2 separate regions of the Homo sapiens genome follow, and region 2 is linked to region 1. The links are contacts of gene promoters, found by promoter capture Hi-C in blood cells and fetal thymus (Javierre and others, 2016). All regions are on one chromosome and are shown on one strand. Each heading gives the region's core, a stretch centred on a gene start or on the middle of the fragment in contact. The rest is flanking DNA. Distances are from core to core; before and after follow the strand shown. Region 1 holds the start of CTDSP2 (CTD small phosphatase 2). Region 2 has its middle 6.2 kb from the start of LRP1.

Region 1 (6,777 bases), core at 3,181-5,680:
TCTCAGCCCCGATACTCTGCCCTGGGAAGCCAGGACAGGACCATACCATACAAGCCTTGTGACAGGAGGGCACCAAGCTCTGGAATCTTGGCATTGACATCCACCTACTCATGAACAATACAAAGCAGAACTGAGACTGCAGGGACAATCAGAAAAACCAAGAAAATCAATGTGTTCCTTTTTTTAAAAAAAAAGTTTTTAAGAAAAAAAGTAATATTTCAGTGACATCAGAGATAATCATGAAAGGTCGGTAGCCCAACCTTGTACTTATTTTCTGTGGGGAAAAGGGCAATTAGGCATCTCCCATGGAGGAAGCTCCTCCAGCTGTTTCCCTTTCGCCAGCCTTGGCTCGGGACACCCAGTCCGACTTCAGTAGCCACAGCAGGAGACAGACAGGGACAGCCACTCCATGTTTGCCCCACATAGCCCCCCATTCTAGCATTTGGGGGTAATGGGGACACTGCTGTTGTTTCCAAATTGCCTCTTACCAACCATGCAGTCAGAGAGGCCAGAGGAAAGGGGATACAGCAGGTAGGGAACCAAGTGAGAGTCAGTGGGCTTTCTCCTGGGAGAGTTGTTAGACCTGGCTTCAGCTATCTCCCTTGAACCACCTAAAATGAACCACCTAAAGTTACACAACCAGCAACTGGCCCAGGCCCCGTAGGCAGGATGTTATTTTTGAGGCTATTTTAGGCAGAAGTTAGAAGGTCCACTTGCCTCCCACCACCCTCACCACTTCAACTATAGGAAAGAGGCCCACCATGACCCTACAGAGCTTTCCAGAGTGCAGACCTTTTCCTAGTCATCTGTGGACAGAGCAGTGAGAAGCCTGTGGCATCAAGAGAGCAAGCCCCACCTATGTTTGGGGTTCCAGGCTCCAGTAGCGCCTCCACTGCTTTTGTAGTCTCTGGAAGCACAGGGGTCCTCACCAGGCCTCTTGGGAACTGCCCCTCCTCCCTCATTTACCCCTCCTTGCTGGGTTCTATTTGTACCCTTGTGCCTCTGGCCTTGGAAGGGGTTCTATCTGTTATACATAAATTTTTCTTTGACCTCAGAGCAAGAAATGCTTGAGGACCATCTCCTCTGCATCTTTCAGGGACAGCCAGAGCCCTGAGACACACATGAAGGCATCTACTGCATCCAGGAGTGAAAGTAGCATTGTTTTAACACTGGGTCACAATCCGGTGGTGGTTTGTGAATTCAATTTAAAAGGTCATGGCTGGCACCTTAAAACCATCAAATAGAACACAATACGTGCAATAGAAAATATGAGTGTGCACACATAGCCAGGGTAAGTATTGTCCATGAAACTTTTGTATCATTTATCTCACAACATAAAATGTGTTTCTTGCTGTAGGTCACTGAACAAATCCCTGGACAAAAGAACACTGGTTCAGACATAAAGTCAAGGCCAGGCATGGTGGCTCACACTGGTAATCCTAGCACTTTGGGAGGCCAAGAGGCAGGTGGATCACCTGAGGTCAGGAGTTTGAGACCAGCCTGGCCAACATGGTGAAACCCCATCTCTACTAAAAATAGAAAAATTAGCTGGGCATGGTGGCAGGTGCCTGTAATCCCAGCTACTCAAGAGGCTGAGGCAGGAGAATTGCTTGAACCGGGGAGGCGGAGGTTGCAGTGAGCCAAGATCACGCCACTTCACTCCAGCTGGGGCAACAGAGTGAGACTTCATCTCAACATGTACAAGTCACCTGTTCTGTGTTAGGCACTCTGCTAGGCACAAGAAATCCAGTAAAGAATAAGACATCCCCTAGTCTCAATCCACCTTCTGGTTGGGAAGCCAATAAGCACACAGTTGCAAGATAGGGTGCCAAGTGGTCTGAGAGAGTATGTATGAGGCTATAAAACCCTGACATGAGGGCGGGCATCTGGGAGGGCTTCCAGGAGAGGTGATGCAATTGGAGTTCACAGCAGGAAAAGAGAGCGATAGGTTCTAGTGTCTCCTCCATCCTATAGATAAGAAGGGAACTATGTTAAAGTGTCAAGGGTTCTAGTCTTAAAGTCCAAAGACATCCTGTCTCCTCTTCTTAACAAGCTGTGAGGTCTCAGGTGAGTCAATTAACCTTCCCAGACCAATTCCTCATTTACAAAACAGGCATCTATAAAAATGGGCATAATATCTGCTCTATCAACCTCAAAGAAGTGAGAGATCAAATGAAATAGATAATATATGTGAAAGTACTTTGTAAATTACAAAAGGGGAGGTATTGTCTCTATGGATGAGGAAATGGAAGCATAACGAAGTGAAGTGTCCTGCCCTACAGTGCTATGGGTAGCAGGCCCCTCTAAATCCTCAGTCCTCAGCTCCTGCCTGCATTCCTCCCACTGCAACTAATCTACCTTAGAAGAGGGCAGGGGAAGGGTCTAAAAAGGCCCCCATAGCAACCTGACTATTGAAGATTTACCTTAAAGATCCTATTGTTTTAATGATGGGAGGTGGGTATGTCAGAACTCCTCCGTTTCCCTTTCTGTTAATGAATTAAGATCTACCCAAATTCAGTGTTTAAAGTTACATAAGCATCATTCAGATCTGTAACAGCCACTTTCATTTTGGAAAAACAGCATTTCCATTAAAATGATGTTATATAAAAAGGTTTTGTATACGTGCGTAGGAACAGCAGAAACAGGCACACATGATCACTGTATGGCACACAGGCATATGCAGATCATGACCTCACCTGTCCTCATGAGGAAGGGACCATAGGAAGCAGGTGTCTGATAGTACCTGGCAAGCTTAGCTGTGACCTAGTTGTCCTCTAATCATCAGTAAGACCTGATGCATGTTGGGCAATGGGAACTGCAGCAGGAAGGAAGCCCCTTCCTTGGCAGGGTGAGTGCCACTGAATCACAGAATATTGGGGTTGGATTTAGCTCAGAAGTCACCCAGTGCAATCTCACTCTACACCACTCTTGCCGGCCTTGACTTGAACAGCTACCATTGTCCCAAGGCAGCCCATGTCACCTGTGGACAGATGTAGATCACTGGAAAAGACCTGATATTGAGCTGAAACCAGCCTTTCTGGAGCTACCACCGCTGGGGAACAAAAGCACCCACAACCTTGAGCAGAGACTCCAGGAGCTGTAGCCAGCGGAGCGTGCCCCGAGGCCTAAAGAGCAAGTGGGGAAGGCAGCCTGAGTCCACAAAGCTGAAGCTCCTCCGAGAGACCTCCATCCATCTAAAGGAAGCTGGGACTGTGGGGGCAAAAAGAGAGGGGTAGGATGAGGGAGGTAGGGAGGAGGGGCGGAGTCGGGGCCGCCTAAATGGGAGTAAGTCGGTGGGTGTGAGGAAAGCCCAGCACCTCAGGTCTCATTTTCAGTGTTTTGGGGGACACAGTCCCGAGGTCAGTTCCAGCTCTTATACTCTGGAGTCCTAGGTCCGCCCACACGCACACACCCCTTTCGGGATTCGAAGGTTGTACTTTTTTTTTTTTTTTTTTGAGACAGAGTCTCGCTCTGTCGCCCAGGCTGGAGTGCAGTGGCGCGATCTCGGCTACCTGCAATCTCCGCCTCCCGGGTTCAAGCAAGTCTTTGCCTCAGCCTCCCGAGTAGCTGGGATTACAGGCGCCCGCCACCACGCCCGGCTAATTTTTTTGTATTTTTAGTAGAGACGGGGTTTCACCATCTTGGCCAGGCTGGTCTTGAACTCCTGACCTCGTGATCCACCCACCTCGGCCTTCCAAAGTGCTGGGATTACAGGCGTGAGCCACCGCGCCTGGCCTCGACGGTTGTACTTTTATGTGACTTGGTACGTCCTTGATTCTAGGGCTAAGCAGGGGGGTAAGGTAACTTCCGATCCGCCCCATCCCCTGCTGGAGTCAGGTTAGGCTTAGCGGCTTGTCTTGGTCACCCCTGAAGGGGGAAACCTTTCCACCTTCCCCGAGTGCGCCCTCCGAGAAAAGAACACCCCAGCACAGAGCACCAGAACGTGAGCTTCGGAGCGGCCTTTTAAATAGTTGGGAAGGGGGTGTGGCCGAGGAGACTGGGAGGCCGCAGTCTGGCGCGGGGGGAGTGGCCCGGGGGCGTGGCCGTGGCGCCTGGAATGTTGTTAGGTCCTCTCACCGCATAGTAAGGAGGGGCCACGCCCCTTTTCTCCAAGAGAGCCAATCGGAGCACCGGAACGGTTTCAAGTCTCCCCCGCCAGCCTGCCCGCCCGCCACCCCACCCCCCTTGAGGATTCGCTTTTTCCGTAACAAAATAGCAAAGCTCCCGACTGTCCGCAGCCCCGGCCGCTCACAGATGGAGGGTCCCAGGGCCTAGGACGCAGCCCCCAGCGGGAAGCTCCAGCTGGCCGTGAAGAGGCCGAGTCGAGAGCCGGGAGGCGCGCGGGGGTGGGCGCTGCAGCCGCGGGTTGTTTATCTGGAGTACGGAGGGGAGGGGGGAGCCTGGAAACCGCCCCGTGTCCCATTTCCTCCTCTTGTTTTCGCTCCGGATTCTCCATGTTGGACCCAAACTGAGGAGCCCGGAGCTGCCGCTGGGGGATCGGGGCCGGGGGCACCCGGGGGAGCCGCTGCCCGGGCCGCCCGCCCTTTGTACAGGCCGCCTCCCTTCCCGGTCCGGGGAGGAAACGAGAGGGGGGATGTGAACAGCTGTGGAAGTCGGAGTCTCGGGAGCCGGAGCGGGCCCCCGCCCAGGCCCCCCAGCCCAGCCCAGCCCGCGCGCCCGCCCGTCCTCCCGCCCAGCCAGCCCGGGCCCGCGGGATTGTTAGATGGAACACGGCTCCATCATCACCCAGGCGCGGAGGGAAGACGCCCTGGTGCTCACCAAGCAAGGTAGGGGCAGCAACTTCCCAAAACTTTGCGTCGCCCCCGGGCGCGGAGGGGGCTAGCACAGCCCCGAACCCAGGTCTCGGCCCTTGACCTCCAGGGCTTAGAGCCAGCGATCCCGACTGGACCCCTCCGGTCCATCCGCCCCCGCATCCCGGCTGGCACTCAGACCTCCGTGGGGGTTGCACGGGGATCCCGGCGCCCGAGCGGAAAGGGCGTCTTCGGCGCAGCTGTCACCCTGTCCCGCAACCCCTCCCCCTCGGGGCTGAGAGACGGAGGGGTAGCTCTCGAAGCACTGGGCCACTCCGCGTCCACCGCCTCCGGAGTTGGGGGTGGGGTCGTCACTTTCCTTCACCGCCGCGCGCGGCTGCCCCGGGATCGCGGGGAGGGGTTAGGAAGGTGACAGAGGGAGCCCCAGGTGGAACGGAACCGAGACTGGAGTCCAGCACTTGCAGGCCCCCCCAAGCCCGAGGTCGTTCGGGCAGCTAGCTGGCGGTGACGGCGTCCGGCGGGACTTGGGACCAAGTTCACCTCTTGGAGGCGGGGGCGGTCGCGGTGGGGGAGGGGCCCGGGCCCTGGCGCACCAGACGTGGCGGGTTCCCGGCTCAGCGCAGGCCCCGGGACCTTGGCGGCGTCGGGCTCCCTCCCGGCTGCCTCTGACCAGTTTCGCTGAGCAAACAAGCCCGACCCTGAGGCCCGGCCAGAGCCCCTCCCTGCCCGGTGCGCTCCCCCGGGGCCGGCGCTGCACACACAGAGCCGCGTTTGTTTAGCCCGGGAGCGGTGTCCCTGGTTACATAATTCGCCGGATGGCATCAGACCCGGCGTGGTTCTGAATCGCGCAGCGAAAAAGTGCGAGTTCTCTGTGGGCAGCGGCTGGCGGCCCCCGCCTTCCAGAGCGTCAGGTGGAGGCGCGAGGGGGCCCGCAGGCCCTCGCGGGGGTGAGGCGGAGGCCGAGGCCTCTCCCGGGGCGGGAGAAAGCTGGGGCCCGAGGGTGGAACCTCTTAGTTTGGTCACAGTGGGAGACTCGAAACTCTTTCCCCCTCCGCCACGTTCTTCTTTTGGCCTTGAGGAATGTGTCCAAAATAGCGGCAGATTTTCCGCGGGGTGTAAGGACGAGTGTGGCGTTTCTCTAGAGAGCCCCCCGACCGGGGCCACCTGGCCCCGGAGGCTGGGGCGGGAGCTGGCTCCTGGGGCCGAAGCCGGAGCGCTCCCTCCCCTTCTCCACCGAGCGCGAAGGGCCGGTGCTGCAGTTGAACACACTGAGGCCTAGAGCCTGGTGGGCGGCCAGCTTCGGGGCCTCGTGCGCCCCACGTCTCCCCGTTTGGCAACATTAGTCAGCAGGTCACTAATTCCTGGGGTTCACGTTCCAAGGAGCTCCCCCAACTTCCCTAGGGGCAAATCCGCTGAGTTGGTGGTGTCAGCCTCTCCCAAATTCCCTCAGTGGAACGAGAGGAGCTGGGAGGGGGGAAGGGTGGGGGGAGGGAGGCAGTGTGTTCCTCTTGCATCACTGGCCGGACTTTAAATAAGCCTGCCCTGAGAAGGGATGGCCTTGCCTACTCAGATCCCAACCCCCGAGAAGGCTCCGGCCTCCCTGACCTCGGTGTTGCCATGATTTCTGCTCTCCTGGCTGCATCACTAACCAGGCTGTGACCCAGGCAGCAACTTCACCGCCTCTGCTGGCTGCTCAACTGTGCTGATGGCTGAAAAAGGAAGGGAGCCTGCGTGTGTTTATAGCTCACTCCTGACTCTTCCCACTCCCTTTTTATCCCAGGAAAAGACCCTAAGAGCTAGCCAGAGGGGAAGAAACCTAGATGTGGGGGGATTCAAGAGGGGGCAGTGGTGATGAGTAGGGGGAGGAGCCCTGTGCTTCCCCACTAGGTCTTCCTCTCTTGCAGGGACTCTCTTGCAGGGAGTGTGCCTTGGGCATCGTGGGGCCACGCGAGGAGTAAGGGAAAGCTGGACTGCGCCGGGGCATCTTAGAAATCAGAGCTGGAAG
Region 2 (7,075 bases), core at 78-2,577, 720 kb after region 1:
GCCACGTATCGTGACGCATACCTGTAATCCCAGCTACTGGGGAGGCTGAGGCACGAGAATCGCTTGAACCCAGGAGGTGGAGGTTGTGGTGAGCCGAGATCGTGCCACTGCACTCCAGCCTGAGCAACAGAGGGAGACCCTGTCTCAAATAAATAAATAAATAAAACAGTAACATACAAATATAAGTGAATATCCTTTAAAACTATAAAGAAACTCATATGATATATAGTGTTCTGTAACTTGCCTTTTTTTCAATTAACTTAGCTTGATCCCTTTCCATACCGTATGAACGCATTTAGCTCACCCTTTGATCTTGGCTACTTGGAATCTCCTTGCTTGGATGTTCCACAGTTTGTTGGGATTGTTGGGCACTTGGGTTATTTCCAGCAGGTGAACTGCTGAGGGTATGTCTGTAAGGTGAGAGAATGCATATTTATGTCTTTCTTTCTTTCTTTCTTTCTTTTTTTTTTTTGAGATGGAGTTGCACTCTTGTTGCCCAGGCTGGAGTGCAGTGGTGTGATCTCAGCTCACTGCAACCTCCACCTCCCAGGTTCAAGCGATTCTCCTGCCTCAGCCTCCCGAATAGTTGAGATTACAGGCACCCACCACCATGCCTGGCTCATTTTTGTGTTTTTAGTAGAGATGGGATTTCTCCATGTTGGCCAGGCTGGTCTTAAACTCCTGACCTCAGGTGATCCATGCACCTTGGCCTCCCAAAGTGCTGTGATTACAGGTGTGAGCCACCTCACCCTGCTGAGAATGCATATTTCTATCTGAGCCATTAATGATACAGTTCCCCTGCTCCTCTACCCTCCTCAGAAAAGCCCTCCTGTTATTCTCGCTCTGCCTATCTCTCCTGTTCCAAACTTGTATTCAGGAAAGCTTCAGTATCCAGAGTTTAGCACTTTATTTTGTGGGCTCTGTATCCACCACTAGACTATATACTCCTTGAGGGCAGGGACCATGTCTTTTTCTTCTTCGTTTCCACCCAGCGTGAGAGGCTCTTGATTGGTGAAAGGAATGTTAGGACTAGAGTTGCCTTTCCTGGAACAGGATGTGACTTCAAGCATCTTCTTCCCTCTATTTCTCTTATAGCATTCATTGTTTAATCCTCTCTGCCTCAGTGCCTTCTCTTCCTCCCCACATCTGTTCTTAAGAGGCATCTTCAAATCCTTGGGTTGAGATTATAACCATAATAGTAGGGAATCATGGAGGAATTCTCTGAAATTCATGATTGATACCTGGAATGGTGATGAGGGCAAAGAAGCTAGTGTGGGTAAAGGGCATCTCTTTTTTCGGGTCGCTCAGCAAATTACAAAATACCCGCCTTTTCTGAGTATAGCAGGGCCTGGGCTGGGGCGTTAATTGGGTAGCTCTGGAACTGAATGTCAAGCCAGAGGCTAGCACCACCTAGTGGTCAGTTAAGGAAGTGTGCGTAGGAAGGGTATCCCGGAAAGGTCTGATGGCAGGCGGAGAGAGGGAAAAGGACCAGTATTTATTGAGCGCATACCATGTCCCAGGCCCACGCAGTGGACTTTATTTACAGTATCAGCTCACTTAAGTCTACCTTTTGTCATGGGTGTTATTTCCAGTGTGTATAAGAAAATAGAATGTTCTGAGAGATTAAAGAATCTGTCCCAAATAATGGTGCAGATCCAAGCCCAGATTTCATTCACTTAATAAAAATATTAGGTACCTCGTATAAGCAAGTACATTGCTAGGCACTAGGGATAAGAGACGGAAACACACAGTCTCAGCCTTCAAGAAGCTTTCAGGTTAGCTGGGTGCTCAACAAGAGACAGACAATGACAATACAGTCAGTTCCTTAACACCTGTGATGAAGGCATGTGCAGAAGGGCATGGGAACATGGGAAGGATACCTCTTCCAGACAAGGTGGTCAAGACAGAGAGCAGCAGATGATGCCAGGCTAAATGTTGAATGAGAGGAAGAAAATGACAACCAATAACAAAAGGAAAGGGTGTTTTAGGCTGGATGGCAGGAAAGGCATTGGAGGCATGAGAAGTTTAAAACATGTGAAGAACATCAAATATGGTATCATAGCTGAAGTTTAAGGTACTTTGAGGGGAGAGTGTTGGATGAAGTATCAGAAAGCCTAATCACAAAGCGTGATTTTAGCCACAGTAAGGACTTAGAATTTTTTTTCTAGAAGTAGTGTAGAGCCAGTTGAGAAATTGGTGAAGTCCTTAATGCATGAGTGATGGAGCTGGAGAGGAAGAGGATTCAGAAACAATAAAGAAGTAGGATCTAGTATACTAACCAGTTAACTGTATAGGCCTGAAGATAGTGACAGAGAAATCTGAGTCTAGAAAATTTGGCTCACATTAGAATCACCTGGAGAGTTTTTAAAAATCCCAGTGCTGTGGTGGCATGCATCTGTAGGCCCAGCTACTCAGGAGACTAAGGTGGGAGGATTGCTTGAGCTCAGGAGGTTGAGGCTGCAGTGAACCTGATCACTGCATGATCATGCCACTGCACTCCAGCCTGGGTAACAGAGTGCAACCCTGTCTCAAAAAGAAAAATAAATGAATCAATGCTGGAGGATTTATGCTACTTGATTTCAAGACTTGTAAGTGACAGTAATCAAGACTATGTGGTGCTAGCATGAGAATTGACAAACAGATCCATGGAGCAGAATAGAGAACCAGAAATAGACTCACAATCATTTGATTTTTTAATAAAAATTCTATATGCGTTTATTATTTTATAATGTTACTTTTATATACTTTTATCTTGGAATTATTTTTCGTTTGATTAGTTTTCTATGCATCTATCATTTTCCCCAAATATCTCAACATAATTTTAAAAAATCAGATAGTTGTTTGATTTCTTATTGCAATTCCTTTGTGTTTACCACCCCTCCACCCTGCTCATCCCTATCTCACCCTGTGCAACTTCTGCATTCTTGCTTCAATGTTGACTAGGCACAGGCTTCGTTTTTCTTTTTGAGACAGAGTTTTGCTCTGTTGCCCAGTCTGGAGTGCAGTGGTATGATCATAGCTCACTGCAGCCTCAACCTCCTGGGCTTAAACTATTTTCCCCTGTCAACTTCCCAAGTAGCTGGGACTACAGACACATGCCACCATGCCTGGCTTCAGCATCCATTCTTAAACTCCTTTTCACCATTGATCTGGGATTTTACTCTTAGCTGGAACCTGTCTGAGACCCGACTATTGGAGGTCTCTTACTGCTGGAGGATGGTATCTCTGGGAAAGGCCCACTCCCAGACCCAGGAATGTAGGATCCATCTCAGTGCAGCTTTTCTCAGCTCTCTACTTGTCTGGGGTACCACACTTCTCAACCGGATTCTGTACTTCTCATAAAGGTATTTTGATCAGTAAATTGTTAAATCTGTGTTTCTGTGAGGGGATGAGAGGCGGGACTTCGTATTGCACCAACTGGCTGATCCCACTGTAAAGGTCATTTGATTTTGGCAAAGATGTCAAAGCCAGCCAGTGGAGAAAGGAATGTCTGTTCAATAAATAGTTATGGAACAACTTCATATCTATATGGGAGAAATAAATGAACCTTGACCCCTACCTCACACCATATGCAAAAATTAATTCAAGATTGATTATAGGCTGGGCCCAGTGGCTCACACCTGTAATCCCAGCACTTTGGGAGGCTGAAGCAGTTGAATCACCAGAGGTCAGGAGTTCAAGACCAGCCTGCCCAACATGGTGAAACTCTGTTTCTACTAAAAATACACAATTAACAGGCCAGGCATGGTGGCTCACACCTGTAATCTCAGCACTTTGGGAGGACAAGGCGGGTGGATCATCTGAGCTCAGTTCAAGACCAGCCTGGCCAACATGGCAAAACACTGTCTCTACTAAAAATACAAAAATTAGCTGGGCATGGTGGTGCATGCCTGTAATCCTAGCTACTCAGGAGGCTGAGGCAGGATAATCGCTTGAACCTGAGAGGCGGAGGTTGCAGTGAGCTGAGATCACACCACTGCACTCCAGCCTGAGTGACAGCGAGACTCTGTGTCAAAAAAATTAATTAATTAAAAAAATAAAAATACAAAAATTAGCTGGGTGTGGTGGTGGGCACCTGTAATCCCAGCTACTCAAGAGGCTGAGGCAGGAGAATTGCTTGAACCCAGGAGGTGGAGGGTGGAGTGAGCCGAGATCGCGCCACTGCACTCCAGCCTGGGTGACAGAGCGAGACTCCGTCTAAAAAAAAAGATTGATTATAGACCTAAACCACAAATGCTAAAATCATAAAGCTTTTAGACAAAAACACAGAATATCTTCATAATTTGGAGGAAAGCAACCCCTTCTTAAGCTATAGAAAGCAATAACATAAATTTCTTGATAAGTGAAACATCAAAATAGAAAACTTTTGCTCGTCAGAAGACATCATTATGGAGTAATCCCAGCACTTTGGGAGGCTGACATAGAAGAACTGCTTGAGGCCAGGAGTTTGAGACCAGCCTGGCCAACAAAGCTAGACTCTGTCACTACAAAAAATTTAAAAAATTAGCCGAGTGTGATGGTGTGCACCTGTAGTCCCAGCTACTCCAGAGGCTGAGAAGAGAGGATTGCTTGAGCCCAGGAGTTAGAGGCTGCAGTGAGTTGATTGTGCCACTGCACTCCAGCCTGAGTGACAGTGAGACCCTGACTCAAAAAAAAAAGACATTATTATGAAAATGTGGAAGTAAGCCAAATAGATAGACAAAACATTGATCTGAGAAGGGACAGAGGAATGCGAGATATATTAAAAATTCCTATAACATAGTAATAAAATGACAACCCAATGAATGGACAATAAGCATATGAAAGGTACTCGAGGCTAGGTGCAGTGGTGCACGCCTGTAATCCCAGCACTTTGGGAGGCCAAGGTGGGAGGATCGCTTGAGGTCAGCAGTTTCAGACCAGCCTAGGCAATATATCGAGACCTCATCTCTACAAAAAGTCCGGGCGTGGTGACTCACGCCTGTAATCCCAGCACCTTGGAAGGCCGAGGCGGGCGGATCACGAGGTCAGGAGTTCAAGACCAGCCTGGCCAATGTGGCCATACCCTGTCTCTACTAAAAATACAAAAATTAGCTGAGCATGGTGGTGGGCACCTGTAATCCCAGCTACTTGGGAGGTTGAGGCAGGAGAATCACTTGAACCCAGGAGGCAGAGGTTGCAGTGAGCTGAGATTGTGCCATTGCACTCCAGCCTGGGCAACAAGAGCAAGACTCCATCTCAAAATAAATAAATAAATAAAATTTAAAAATGATCTAGATATGGAGGTGCATTCCTGCAGTCCTAGCTACTCAAAAGGCTGAGGCAGGAGGATTGCTTGAGCCTAGAAGGTTGAGGCTGCAGTGAGCAGTGATTGTGCCACTGTGCTCCAGCCTGGGCAACAGAGTGAGACCCTGTCTCAAAAATAAAAAGAAAAAAGAAAAAGAAAAGAACTCAACATCTTTAGTTATTAAGAAAATGCAAATTATGCCAGGCACGGTGGCTCACGCCTGTAATCCCAGCACTTTGGGAGGACGAGGCAGGAGGATCACAAGGTCAAGAGATCTAGACCATCCTGGCTAACATGGTGAAACCCTGTCTCTACTAAAAATACAAAAAATTAGCTGGGCGTGGTGGCGGGCGCCTGTGGTCCCAGCTACTCGGGAGGCTGAGGCAGAAGAATGGCATGAACCCAGGAGGTGGAGCTTGCGGTGAGCCGAGATCGTGCCACTGCACTCCAGCCTGGGTGACAGAGCAAGACTCCGTCTCAAAAAAAAAAAAAAAAAAAAGGAAATTATATCCATAGTGTGATACCTCTCAATACTCACCAAAATGATTAAACTTTAAAAAACTGACAATACCAAATGTTAGTGGGAATACAGAGCAACTGGAACTCTCATACATCATTAGTGGGAATGTAAAATGTACTATCAATTTGGAACAATATGTAGCAGTTTCTTATAAAACTACACATACACCTACCCTGTGACTCAGCAATTCTATTCCTAGTTATTTATCCAAGAGAAATGAAAGCATATGTTCACACACAGACTTGAACACAGAATATTCATAGCAGTTTTCTTCACAGTAGCCAAAAGCTGGCTATAGCTCAGGTATCCTTCATTTGAAAAAGGATAAACAAACTGTGGTATAGATCCACCATGGGACACTACTCAGCAAGAAAAATGAAAGAACTATGGATACATGCAGCAACATGGATGAACCTCAAAACATGTTGCGTAAAATAAGCCAGACATAAAACTACATCCTATATTACTCTACTTAAAAAAAAAAATCAGAACAGTGGCTTCCCCTGTGGGTTGGGGTGAGGGTAATGATCCACATCTTGATAGAAGTTTGGGTATTACAAAGCAACCACCTGGTAGGGCAGAGATTTGAACACAGGTGGTCTGCCAGCGGCCAAGGTTTTAATCACCATACTACATAGCCTTGCCCAGGCTGTGGAGCCTCAGATGTGGATGAGATCACACAGAAAGAGTGTCCCGTGAAGACAGGAGACTGAGAGGGAGGACGCAGAGAGGTAGGCCGAAGACCAAGAAAGGAATCATGAAAAGTAGTTGGGGGAGAACTTACTCAAGAATGGCTAACAGTGTTGAGTACTGCTGAAAGGCCCAGCAAGAGAAAGACAGGAATGTGCCATCATTCAAGGCCCCTAGGAGGGTGTATGTGACATGGGCCAGGACAGTTTCATGACTGGTGGGGGCAGCAGCCAGCTGGCAGTGTAATGAGGAAGTAAGGAAGAGAAGACTGAATATGAATAATTTTCCCAAGATGCTTGGCTGCACAGGGGAAGGGAGAGAGGCAAGACAGTAATTAGAGAACTGAGATTTCCTTGCAGAGGCACAATCCTGACCACAGCTGACTCCATCCAGAGCTGCTTGACTTTGCCCATTCACCAGGATGGCTAACTTGTCCTTCTGTGAAGTAAAGGTCGGTTGGCCACAGTAAGCCTCTGACAGCCTGAGGGCTCCATTTGAAGCCTTGAGATCAGCTGACTCCACCATTGCTCACATCCTGTCATCCTTGGCAGGCCTTGATTGGCATCCATCCTTCTCCACTAAGTCCAGTCCTTCCTCCT

The links. Contacts are between HindIII fragments. The CHiCAGO score rates a contact against its expected background, and 5 or more counts as called.
Region 2: a contact is called between a fragment that was not itself captured here and the fragment with the promoter of CTDSP2 in region 1, in 1 of 17 cell types (non-activated CD4 T cells). The highest score is 5.7, in non-activated CD4 T cells.

Annotation. Positions count from the first base shown.
Region 1 is chr12:57,844,382-57,851,158 of GRCh38, reverse strand. It overlaps CTDSP2 (CTD small phosphatase 2), which reads left to right and starts at 4,430. Exons shown (of 8, transcript NM_005730.4): 1 at 4,430-4,787. The coding sequence starts at 4,724. RefSeq lists silencers at 3,949-4,128, 4,199-4,278, 4,289-4,718, 5,309-5,608, 5,939-5,988. The HindIII fragment of the contact is 5,566 bases long and covers 2,754-6,777 here.
Region 2 is chr12:57,118,788-57,125,862 of GRCh38, reverse strand. No RefSeq gene overlaps it. Among named protein-coding and RNA genes, the nearest start is that of LRP1, 6.2 kb to the left of the region's middle. RefSeq lists an enhancer at 6,725-6,914. The HindIII fragment of the contact is 886 bases long and covers 885-1,770 here.